Regions from separate parts of the Homo sapiens genome. Here regions 1 and 2 are each linked to region 3. The links are contacts of gene promoters, found by promoter capture Hi-C in blood cells and fetal thymus (Javierre and others, 2016). All regions are on one chromosome and are shown on one strand. Each heading gives the region's core, a stretch centred on a gene start or on the middle of the fragment in contact. The rest is flanking DNA. Distances are from core to core; before and after follow the strand shown.

Region 1 (4,081 bases), core at 229-2,728, 230 kb before region 3:
TCGTCCAGGCTGTAGTGCGCTGGCATGATCACAGCTCACTGCAGCCTCAACCTCCCAGGCTCAAGCGATCTTCCCACCTCAGCCTCCTGAGTAGCTGGGACAATAGGTATGCACCACCGTGCCCAGCTCATTTTTAAATTTCTTGGTAAAGACAAGAGTCTTGTCATGTTGCCTGAATTGGTCTCAAACTCCTGGACTCAAGTGATCCTCCTGCCTCAGCATCCCAGAGTGCTGAGATCACAGGCATGAGCCACTGTGTCTGGCTGGTCTTACCTATTTTTTGAGAAGGCATGAGGTCCTAGGCGGGAGGGAAAAAAAGTAATTCCTAACTCAAAGCCTTTAAATCTAGACAGGAATCAAGATTTCAAAACTAATCAGTGCCTTGGGCTTGGAAGGGAAAGGTAAAATGAAGAGGATGAGGGGATGGCTTTGGGGGATTGAGAGCAAGGTGGGTGCAGCAGCCAGTGCATTTTCATAGTCTTATTTATTGAGCAACTACTTTGCGTCAGGTTTCATTTTTTGTTTGTTTTGAGATAGAGTCTTGCTCTGTCACCCAGGCTAGAGTGCAGAGTGCAGTGGCACAATCTCGGCTCACTGCAACCTCCACCTCCCAGGTTCAAGCGATTCTGCTGCCTCAGCCTCCCAAGTAGCTGGGATTATAGGCGTGGCCCACCATGCCCACCTAAGCCTAATTTTTGTATTTTTAGTAGAGACGGGGTTTCACCATGTTGGCCAGGCTGGTCTTGAACTCCTGACCTCAAGTGATCCGCCCACCTTGGCCTCCCAAAGTGCTGAGATTACAGGCATGAGCCACCGTGCCCGGCCTGTGTCAAGTATTCTTGATGCTGAGGATACAGCCCTCAAGAGGTGCACACCCCAGTGGAGGGAGAAACAGAATGAGATTCTTGATACAAGCAATGCTTCAGTTAACAATAGGGGTCATCACAGATTCTTGAGCAGGTGAGTGACAAGTGCGGTGGTGTGGAGGACCCAGCACAGGCTGGCAGAGCAGCAGTAGAGAGGGACTGGAGGCAGGGGAGGTAGCAGTGCCAGTTACAGAGCTGAGGGGCTCCCCGAGACATGGGCGGAGTCTCATCTCTTTCTTGCTTTATTCCCACCCCTGGCCTTTTATGGCCAGAAGCCTTGGAAAGCCGGGTCACACCTGGTGGGCCCCTTCCTATGGCAGGGATGAGGACAAAAGCACGTGTATGGGCTCGCCCTGGAGAAGAGGAGGGGTGTCTGGGAGTCCTCTTCTGCCCTGCTCCTTCAAAAGTCAGTTCTGGTTTGAGCACTGGAGTCTGGGCTTGGAAGGCACCTGTGAGCAGAGGAGGGAGGGGGTCACCCCCCAGAGTTTGGAAGGGTGACAGCTTCATCTATATTCCATTACCCACCCTCTTCTACAGTAGGGTAGAAAACTAGAGAAGGGACCTGGAAGACAAAGAGTCAGCTTTGTCACAGGAAGAGGCAGCTGTAGACACAACGGCAGCCACCAGGTGACCTAGAGCCCTCCCCACAGGCCCAAGCCTGGCTCACGCAGCAGGGTGGCAAGGGCCTGGGGGCGGCCTTAGAAAGCTGCAAAAGTGGCTGTGCGCGGTGGTGATCCCAGCACTTTGGAAGGCCGAGGCGGAGGCTCGCTTGAGTCCAGGAGTTCGAGGCCAGCCTGGGAAACATGGCGAGATGCCCCTGCCTTCCCTATAAAAAAAATAAAAATAATTTTTTTTAAAAAAGCAACTGACCCGCCTGGGTGACGCCCTCAAGCCCCCCCCCCCCCGCCCTTTCCCCACCCGGGCTTCAGTTTGCTCATTGGGGCCTAATCCAGCAGGGCTGTTGCGAAGCTGCCTGGGAGACACCAAGGGGGACCCCCGCCCCGTCCGCCGAGAGCGCCCCCTGGCGGCCCGGCCCTCCCCTGCGCCGCGGGTCCGGGGGCCCTTCCCAGTCCAGGCGCGGCGCACCCTGGGGGATCCGTCCAGCTCCAGAAGTTTCTTCGTCTAAATTACTTGGAGTTGATCTTTCTAAACAGGATTGCTCAGACACACCCTGCCTTCTCGAACAAGGAAAGAACTCTACCCATCCCACTCAACTGCCATGTACGACCGCCTGCAGCCTCATCACAGGGCACTTCCCATAACATCCTACCACCGCGGACCCCAGGCCTCGCCCCTAAAGCCCGAGCCCTGACATCCTGCAGCCTGGAATCGCACATCTCCAGTCACGTGGCCACTGGCCCCGTTTCGCCAAACATGTCCGGAACCGAACCCATCTTCTTGCACCAAACCTTCTTGTGCTCTTCCTCTTCCCTTCCTGAACAAGTCGGCCCTAAAGCCACAGGTGGGGCGACTAAATTTTTTCGTATAAATAAATCCCAAACATTGCATAGGACATAATTATACATTTTATACTAAAAAAAAATGTTCATCTGAAATTCAAATTTAACTGGGCATTCTGTTTTTATTTGCTAAATCTGACAACCCTACTGCCCCTGTCTCTGGCCAGCCAGTTCCTCCTCGTCTCCTGGAGCCAGCCCTGGAGCTTCCCTAGACAGATTCCAGGGACAGCTCCTCCAGGCACAAGGTCATGATGGCGGTGATGGCAAATTATTGCAATGGCTTGTTTTCTTACGTTTCTCCACCCACACTGTGAGTTGTTGGAAGGCCAGACTGTGTGTTTCTCTCTCTTTACCCCAAAGCCTGAAGTTAGGTGCTTAGGTAATGCTCACCACTGTAAAGCCAGTAGGAAGTAAGCGCGTTTTTCTGTTTTGTTTTTTGTTTGTTGTTGTTGTTGTTTTTGAGATGGAGTCTCGCTCTGTTGCCCAGGCTGGAGTACAGTGGCGCAATCTCGGCTCACTGCAACCTCCGCCTCCAGGGTTCAAGCGATTCTCCTGCTTCACCCTCCCGAGTAGCTGGGATTACACCCGCACGCCACCATGCCTGGCTAATTTTTGTATTTTTAGTAGAGACGGGGTTTCACCATGTTGGTCAGGCTGGTCCCAAACTCCTGGCCTCGTGATCTGCCCGCCTCAGCCTCCCAAAGTGCTGGGATTACAGGCATGAGCCACCACGCCCGGCCCTAAACGCGTTTTTAAAGGCGGTGTCTCTCGGTGAAGAGCTGTCACACAATGGTGCTCTCAGGGGTCTGTGGGCCACTGTACCGAGGCCTACACTCCCAAGTTCATTGAGTTACTTTTGAAAAGCATTATACTTGAGCTAGTTTGCCCGCGGGTGTGTGAAGGGAGACAGTCAGTGTGGAGGCCACAGGGTACTCGCCACGATGAGCAGCACCCTAGCTAAGATCGCGGAGACAGAAGAGGAGATGGCTTGGACTCAACAAGGCCACAGCACACCACCTGGGGCTGCTTAAGGCTCGTCTTGCTAAGCTTCGTCGAGAACTCACTACTCCAAAGGGTGGTGGTGGTGGTGGAGGTGCAGAAGAAGGTTTTGATGTGGCCGAGACAGGTGATGCTTGAATTGGATTTGTTGGTTTTCCATTTGTGGGGAAGTCGACACTGCTTAGTAACCTGGCAGGGGTATATTCTGAGGTGGCAGCCTATGAATTCACTACTCTGAGCACTGTGCCTGGTGTCATCAGATACAAAGGTGCCAAAATCCAGCTCCTGGATCTCCCAGGTATTATTGAAGGTGCCAGGGATGGGAAAGGTAGAGGTCGTCGATCATTGCAGTGGCCCGAACCTGTAACTTGATCCTGATTGTTCTGGATGTCCTGAAACCTTTGGGACATAAGAAGATAATTGAAAATGAGCTGGAAGTCTTTGGCATTCACTTGAACAGCAACCACCGCCCCCCAACAATGGCTTTAAGAAGAAGGACAAGGGAGGCATTCATCTCACAGCCACTTGCCCACAGAGTGAGCTGGATGCTGAAACTGTGAAGAGCATTCTGGCTGAATACAAGATTCATAATGCCGATGTGACTCTACGTAGTGATGCTACAGCTGATGACCTCATTGATGTGGTGGAAGGAAACAGAGTTTATATCCCCTGTATCTATGTTAAATAAGATTGACCAAATGTTATGTTAAATAAGATTGACCAAATGTTATCTTATGTTAAATAAGATTGACCAAA
Region 2 (3,726 bases), core at 1,136-3,635, 250 kb before region 3:
GTCATTTTGCAGACTTAAGAATGGCATGTGAGATTAAACATTCTCTAGGAAGCATAGCAGAGTATGACTGACAACTTTACATGAATTTTTTAGACATAATGGTAAACAAAAATTCAGCCTAATTATTAGCTGTGCTTTCTTGGATAAGTTATTTAGATTCTCTAAGCTGTTGTCTCACAAGTAAAATGGAGATATGTCTGCCTCATAGGCTATTAAGAGGATAGCATTCTCATACAGCAGTGTTACAAATGATGTATCATAAAATAATAGTCCAACCACCTGCCACATTTCAGAAACAAAAAAAGATTTATACTTTACATGCAATAGACATACAAAAAATTTTAAATTCTGAGGGAAAAAAATGAAAATGCCCCACACATTTGAGTCATTTATATATTAATCTGGAAAGAAATGCTATCTTTCTGTAACTTCTGTTTTATATTTTTATTTCAGCATTCACCCTGTGTGCATGAGCTGTATTAAATGTATCTGACATACATATATATATATATATTTTGTTTGTTTTGTTTTGTTTGTTTAGACAGGGTCTTGCTCTATTGCCCAAGCTAGAGTGCAGTGGTGCAGTCTCTGCTCACTGTAACCTTCGCCTCCTGGGTTCAAGCAATTCTCCTGTCTCAGCCTCCCGAGTAGCTGGGACTACAGGCGTACGCCACCACACCCAGCTAATTTTTTTACACATACATATAGTGGAGATGGGGTTTCACTGTGTTGGCCAGGCTGGTCTTGAACTCTTAACCTCAAGTGATCCGCCCACCTCAGCCTCCCAAAGTGCTGGGATTACAGGCCTGAGCCACCGCATGGGGCATACTTACTTTGATTTTTATTTGCAATTACTAGTTGAAAATCTGTTGTAAAATGAAGAATTAAATTATTTTTATTCTAATTAATTAGTCCCCATACTCTTCTATCAGAATATCCTTCAGGTGGATTTTCCAGAAGGAGTAATTATCTATGTCTTAAGTAAGGGTCAGGAATCTGTATTCTTAAACAGGCCTCATAGATTGAGTAGCTGTCATTCCAATCCCAGAGGGTAGAAAATAATGAAAAATGAAGGCTAGACAGATTTCTTTATTTTGTGGTGGTTTCACTTACGGTCTCCCCCAGCACCCCTTGCCCCGCGGAGGACCTGCTTTATCTCCACAGATTCTGCATCCTTGGATAAAGGTGAAACTTGTAGATACGGAGGTCTTGCCTTTCGTATCCATAGTTTACATAAGGCTAAACTACTGGAGTTCAGCTTCCACAGATTTTTGGTTTCTTGTGTGGGTCCTGGAACCAATTAAAGTTCTCATGAATGAACATGAAAGATGTAAATAGCACAGAAGATTGGCACACTGTCGTATGAGATAAGCTCTGGCCTAAGGGTCTTGGCTGACTAGCTGCATGTCCCATACCTTTTGGACCATTGGACCATTGGACCATAGTGACCTCATCTGTGGAATTATAGTACTGATCTACATGTCCTATATACACTCTTAGGCAGATAGTGATTAAACAGTCATGAATGATAGTGGGGACTGAATGACGAAATGAAAAGACCTTATCTCTTTTAATACTTTTGGTGCAGAACATAGCTGCTTTTAGACTACCAGCAGCAGAAGTATGAATATGGATGACCTGTTTATGTGTTTGTTTTTAACCAATTCTGGGATAATTTGAGACTAATGGGAAAATTGCAAAACTATACCCTTCACCCATGTTTTCCAGATGTTACCGCTTTATCACATTGGCTGTATGATTCTCTCTCCCTCTCTTCTTCCCCTCATCCACAACACTATTTGGGTTTACTTTTGAAAGGAAGTTGCAAGTGGGCCAGCGTGGTGGCTCACCTCTGTAATCTCAGCACTTTTGGAGGCTGAGGTGGGCAGATCACTTGAGGTCAGGAGTTTGAGACCAGCCTAGCCAACATGGTGAAACCCCGTCTCTACTAAAAAAAAATACAAACTTAGCCGGGCATGGTGGTACGCACCTGTAATCCCAGCTACTCGGGAGGCTGAGGCAGGAGAATCACTTGAACCCAGGAAGGGGAGATTGCAGTGAGCCAAGATTGCATCACTGCACTCCAGCCTGGGTGACAGAGTGAGACCTGTCTCAAAAAAAAAAAAAAAGTTACAGGCATGATGTCCCTTACTCAAAAGTACATTAGTGTATGTTTCTTGACAGTAAGTATATGTTTTCATATAACCACAATTTCTGAAGTCAGGAAATTAACACTGATAAACCACTAATCAAAGCAGCCAACTTTATTCCAACTTTGCTACTTATCACACTGATTACCTTTATAAGAAAGAGAAAGGGAGATTGACAATGGGGGCCCATTGTCAAATTGAGGATCACGGATTACTTTCATCACTGCTCTTTTCTTTAATCTCGAACTGTTTCTGTTTTTTATGACCTTGACATTTTTAAAGGGTATAGGCCTGTTTCATAGAATGTCTCAATCTCCAGATATTTTAGATGACCTGCTTTCAATATTTAGACAACAAAATTTAAAATGTCTAATGTATGTTAAAAATTGGGTTTTACACACTTATTTGTGAGAGAAAAGGTATGCTTCCCTGGGTGAAATTAATTGGTGATAGTTCGTCCTTTCAGTGAATTAGTTTCTGGAGAATATTTTTTTCTTTTTCTCTTTTTTTTTTTTTGGTGGGGGGGTTGTTGTTGTTGTTGTTTTGTTTTGTTTCGTTTTTGAGACAAGGTCTTGCTCTGTTGTCCAGGCTGGAGTGCAGTGGCACAATCTCATCTCATTGCAACCTCTGCCTCCCAGGCTCAAGCGATCCTCGCAACCTCACCCTCCCCAAGTAGCTGGGACTACAGGCACACACCACCACTCCTGGCTAATTTTTGTATTTTTTGTAGAGATGGGGTTTTGCCATGTTGCCCAAGCTGGTCTCAGACTCATGACCTCGAGCTATGTGCCTTCCTCAGCCTCCCAAAAATGCTGGGATTATAGGCGTGAGCCACCGCGCCTGGCCAAATTTGTAAATTTCATATATGAGAAGACCACTTAGTCTTCTAGAACTGAATGTCTATGGTTTTTTAAAATTCAAGGCAGTGTAATATTATTAGATATTGTATACGATGTGCACAGGAGTTCTGTTGTTAGGAGCTGATAGAATATCAATAAAAGAATACCTAGATATGGGAGAAATTCCTGTTGCTTATTGGCAGGATATTTGGGAGGTACCAAATAAAACCGGCTTCTTCATTTCCTGGGGTGAGTACGTATTTTGAATTTGGTGTCGAAAATCTTTAATGCATTAAGGGTGTTTGAGGTAATGATAAGAAATAGTAACGAGTAAGTGGGGTGGGGGATGTGAACAGTTAGGGTACTACTAAGAAATTTGTGTGAAAAATAGGTTTGGATTAATGACTTGAAAACTAGGTTGAAGATCTTAGAGCAAGTACTCTTATCAGGATGCTGTAGGTTTTTATCATAAAGTGACATCATCAAAAATGGACTTTGAAAGGAAAAATACAATTGATGTGTATAAAATTGGATTGGTGAATCTTAAATTCAGCTGATTAAGAAAAAATTTTAACCAAATTGAAATGATAAGCAAAGCACCCCTGCCCTTCTAAAAGGGCAAAGATGCTAGAGAAAACCCAGTGGCTGTGCAGATGTGATAAGGACCCAATTTTAAAGAATCAGATGGGCTAGTGATCAATTATTGTTACGAACAGTTAGAAATACGTAAACAAATA
Region 3 (3,776 bases), core at 271-2,770:
CCAGAGCTTGCAAATACTGTATTTATCAATCCCTCCTCTTCTTGGCATAGTTTCTTTCAAACTTCTTAGTGTCCTCTTCCCATTATTACAAACTTCTCGTTTCTTCTAAGGTCCTTCTAAATTGGTGAGTTCTCAGTGGGAGTTGAGTGACCTTTTCCCTCAGTGTGACTATCACTGCCCAATGTCATTGATACATTATACAACTCCCCATCCCCACTTCCCCTCAGCTCCTGTTAACCACCATTCTTTCTGTCTCTATGAATTTGACTACTCTAGATTCCCCATGTAAATGGAATCATACAGTATTTGTCTTTTTGTGACTAGCTTATTTCACTTAACATAATACTCTCAAGGTTCATCCATTTTGTAGCATCTGCCAAAATTTCCTCCCTTTTAAGGCTGAACAGTATTCCATTGTACGTAGATACTGCATTTTGCTTTTCCATTCACACAAAGAGAGACACTTGGGTTGTTTCCGCCTCTTGGCTATTGTGTATAATGCTGCTACCAGCATGGGGTACAAATATGAGAAGTGAGGTTTAGGATCGTGTGAGGAGGATCACTTGTAGAGGGAAAATAGTGAAATAGGACGACCAGATAGGCTCTGTTGGAACTCGCGCCCATTGTTTTAAGACGCAGCTCAAATGTCACCTGGTTTTAGAAGTCTTCCTGGTCTCCGCAGGCAGTCAGTATCTCTTTCCTAAATCCACCACATTCCCGTAGACAGACACCACATTTATGCAAATCTCCTTCTCACAGACAGTGAGTTCCATGGGGGTCCCCTGGCAGCCTCCAGCCCTGTACCATGCTAACTCTTCCGGAGAGGAAATGGGGCCTCGGGAGAGCCTTTGAAGCCTGTGTTGGTACAGGCTGTCCTTCCAGCTAACGGGGCTCTCTGGGGAATGTATGTTTGACTTTCTATTCCCGGTAATATAAGTTCAAATGTTTGTGGATATTTGAAGCTCGGATGAAAGCGTTTCTATTCATGCCCCTAGAATCTGTGAGGCCTTTTCTTTCTTTTTTTTTTTTTAAACAAGAGCCCACAGCAAAACTTGGGTTACTTGGCTGAGGAAAGGAATGTAGAGCTAGGAGCAGGGTTTCATCTTCAGCCCCAGTCGGGCAAACCAGTGGCAGAAGGGAAAGCAGAGCCCAGGGGTCCCCATCCCGTACCTGGGGCGCAGGCCCCGCTGGGGTGGGAGGGAGAGTGGAGGGCCGGGCAGGCTGCAGCCGCGGATGGCTGCCCCCCCTGCCCCGGTGTTACTGGGAGGACGGAGGTTGCGACAGCAGCCGAGCCCACCCAGTTGCAGCCGGCTCGGGGCTTAGGGCAGGGGCGGGAGGTGACCACCGCGCCGCTGGCCGCCTCGCCCAGACATTCCGTTTCTGCCGCTGGAATGCGCGGACAAGGCTCCTTGTTGGCCTTGGGCGGGGTTCGCCGGGCCGGCCTGGCGCTCGAGGCCCCGGGGCGGGGCGGGGCCCGAGGCCGCGGGACCTTTAAATCCGAGCCTCGCGTGGGCTCCTGGCCCCCGACGGACACCACCAGGCCCACGGAGCCCACCATGCCGCGCCCGGCCCCCGCGCGCCGCCTCCCGGGACTCCTCCTGCTGCTCTGGCCGCTGCTGCTGCTGCCCTCCGCCGCCCCCGACCCCGTGGCCCGCCCGGGCTTCCGGAGGCTGGAGACCCGAGGTCCCGGGGGCAGCCCTGGACGCCGCCCCTCTCCTGCGGCTCCCGACGGCGCGCCCGCTTCCGGGACCAGCGAGCCTGGCCGCGCCCGCGGTGCAGGTACAGGCGGGCGGCGGGAGGGACGCGTGAGCATCGAACGAGGAGAAGCCCAGGGCATCCACCAAGCGCGCTTCATCCCGGCCTCAGGCCGACCGTGGTGCGGGGGAAAGAGGCCCCTCCCGGATGAATCCTGTGGGGGAAACTGAGGTCCAGAGAAGGGGAGGGAGATGCCCAATATCACTCATGTGTCCAGGCTAGAGATGTGGGTCTCCTGAAGCTCTCACTCCCCTGTGATTCGGCCAGGAGCACAGGGCAGCTGGGGAGCGCAGGGGCTGCTGCCCAGCGGCTGCTGCTAAGCTCCGTCCCAGTCCTGACCTCTCCATTCAGTGAGCAAACCCTTCCTGAGACTCTGCTGTTAGTTCTCTTGGAATCTCTCCATCTCCATCCAATATCAGGGCGTGATCTTTCCTCCCCTCCCACAGTCCTCAGGCTGCCTCAGACTGGAAGGTAAGGGATGCGGGTGTGAGACCAGGAGGAGATCCGAGGAGCCGTAGGATACCCCAGGATCAAGACACTCTGGGTCTTTGGCGAACAATTCTATTTCTCTTTTTGGTCAGCAATTGATTCCTGAAGCAGAGCAAAGCTCATAGTGCAGCGAAGCGGGCAGGTCGTCTGACACAGCCCCTGACAGCACATGAAGGGAAACTGAGGCATATCAAGTTGAAGGGACTCTGTGAATCAGTATCAGAGGCCACAATAAAATTCAGGGCTCCGAAATCCCAAGCAAGGTCTCTTTCCACTGCCCCAGCCTACCAACCTCTTAATATGGTTTACATAAGATTGTATCTTCATTTCCAAAAAGCGCAGCTTCAGTCTTGCTAAAAAGAGTCTGTGCCAGGCCATTTCTGGGTATGCAGTCTCATTTGGCCAGCCACGCTGCATGCCTCAGGCTGATTTCAATTGTCTATCCCCTTCTGCATCTTTCTGGATAAGCTGAGAAGGAGCTCAAGGGACTCTTTCCTGACTCAAATACTCAGTCCCCGTATTTGAAGTGGCAGATTTGAAATGGCAAAAGCATTGCTGCTAAGGCAGGAGGTACCGGGGTCCACAGGGCTAGATTCAGCTGGTGGCTGGTTGCTCCAGGCCGGGAATTGAGGGAAAGCCTTTCTTCTGGAAGTTAATCTTACTCTAGTCCTGACCTGCCTCCCTCTGGGATGGGACTGGAAGAGGAAGGAGAGATTCAGCACCAGGTGGCCATGTCCCCCTAAGCTTTACTGGTCTTTCATTACCTAGAGTCCGAACCTGATCATGAATGATAACCCATTAATAAATGCGAGATTCCACCCTGTTCCAAATTATCTCCTTTTAGCAACCAGAAATTGCTAAGCTTCGCTATGGATTTTTATTTCTAGCAGGACTGTAAGGACTCAGTGGTATTATGAGTATGGGAACATTTTAGGAGATTCAGATTCTTTCTTTGTTCTTGGGAATCAAATTGCTGCTATTTAGTAAATGGGAGTGAGATTCAAAAACAACTAATGATTGATGCGGAGTACCAGTCAGGAAGGAACCAGATGTTCACAGAATTTTCTGCCACCATGGTCAAGCCTCAGGTATTAGTTTTCTATGGCCACTGTAACAAATTACTGTGAATTTAGTGCCTTAAGACAACACACATTTATTACCTGAGAGTTCTGTGGGTCAGAAGTCTGACCCTGGTCTCACTGGGCTAAGATGAAGGTGTCGGCAGGGCTGTGTTCCTTTTGGGAGGCTCTAGGGGAGACTGCATTTCCCTTCCCTTTCCACCGCATGAAGGCTGCTGAGTTCCTTGGCTTATGGCCTTTTTCTTCCATTTTCAGAGCCAGCTAAAGCAGGTTGAGGCCTTCTCCCATTGAGTTACTCACATTTCTTTCATCTGCCTCCCTCTTCTACTTTATAATTACATTGACTCACTGAATAATCCAGGATAACCTCTTGTGTAGAGCTCTTTGACTTAATCACACCTGCAAAGTCTCTGCTCTTTGCCACGTAAAAGTAACATGTCTCTGGAATTAGGA

The links. The method cuts DNA at HindIII sites, captures the fragments that hold promoters and counts their contacts. A CHiCAGO score of 5 or more calls a contact.
Region 1: a fragment that was not itself captured here is called in contact with the fragment with the promoter of MATN3 in region 3 in 3 of 17 cell types (M0 macrophages, M2 macrophages and M1 macrophages); the score reaches 8.3 in M0 macrophages.
Region 2: a fragment that was not itself captured here is called in contact with the fragment with the promoter of MATN3 in region 3 in 1 of 17 cell types (M2 macrophages); the score reaches 5.2 in M2 macrophages.

What each region holds. Positions count from the first base shown.
Region 1 is chr2:20,240,233-20,244,313 of GRCh38, reverse strand. It overlaps the pseudogene DRG1P1. Among named protein-coding and RNA genes, the nearest start is that of SDC1, 17 kb to the right of the region's middle. RefSeq lists silencers at 1,769-1,998, 3,033-3,179. The HindIII fragment of the contact is 3,794 bases long and covers 1-3,375 here.
Region 2 is chr2:20,265,430-20,269,155 of GRCh38, reverse strand. The region is part of intron 13 of PUM2 (pumilio RNA binding family member 2); the gene reads left to right. Among named protein-coding and RNA genes, the nearest start is that of SDC1, 42 kb to the right of the region's middle. The HindIII fragment of the contact is 7,281 bases long and covers 1-3,726 here.
Region 3 is chr2:20,010,412-20,014,187 of GRCh38, reverse strand. MATN3 (matrilin 3) reads left to right here and starts at 1,520. Exons shown (of 8, transcript NM_002381.5): 1 at 1,520-1,779. The coding sequence starts at 1,557. RefSeq lists an enhancer at 1,804-2,416. The HindIII fragment of the contact is 3,809 bases long and covers 1-2,990 here.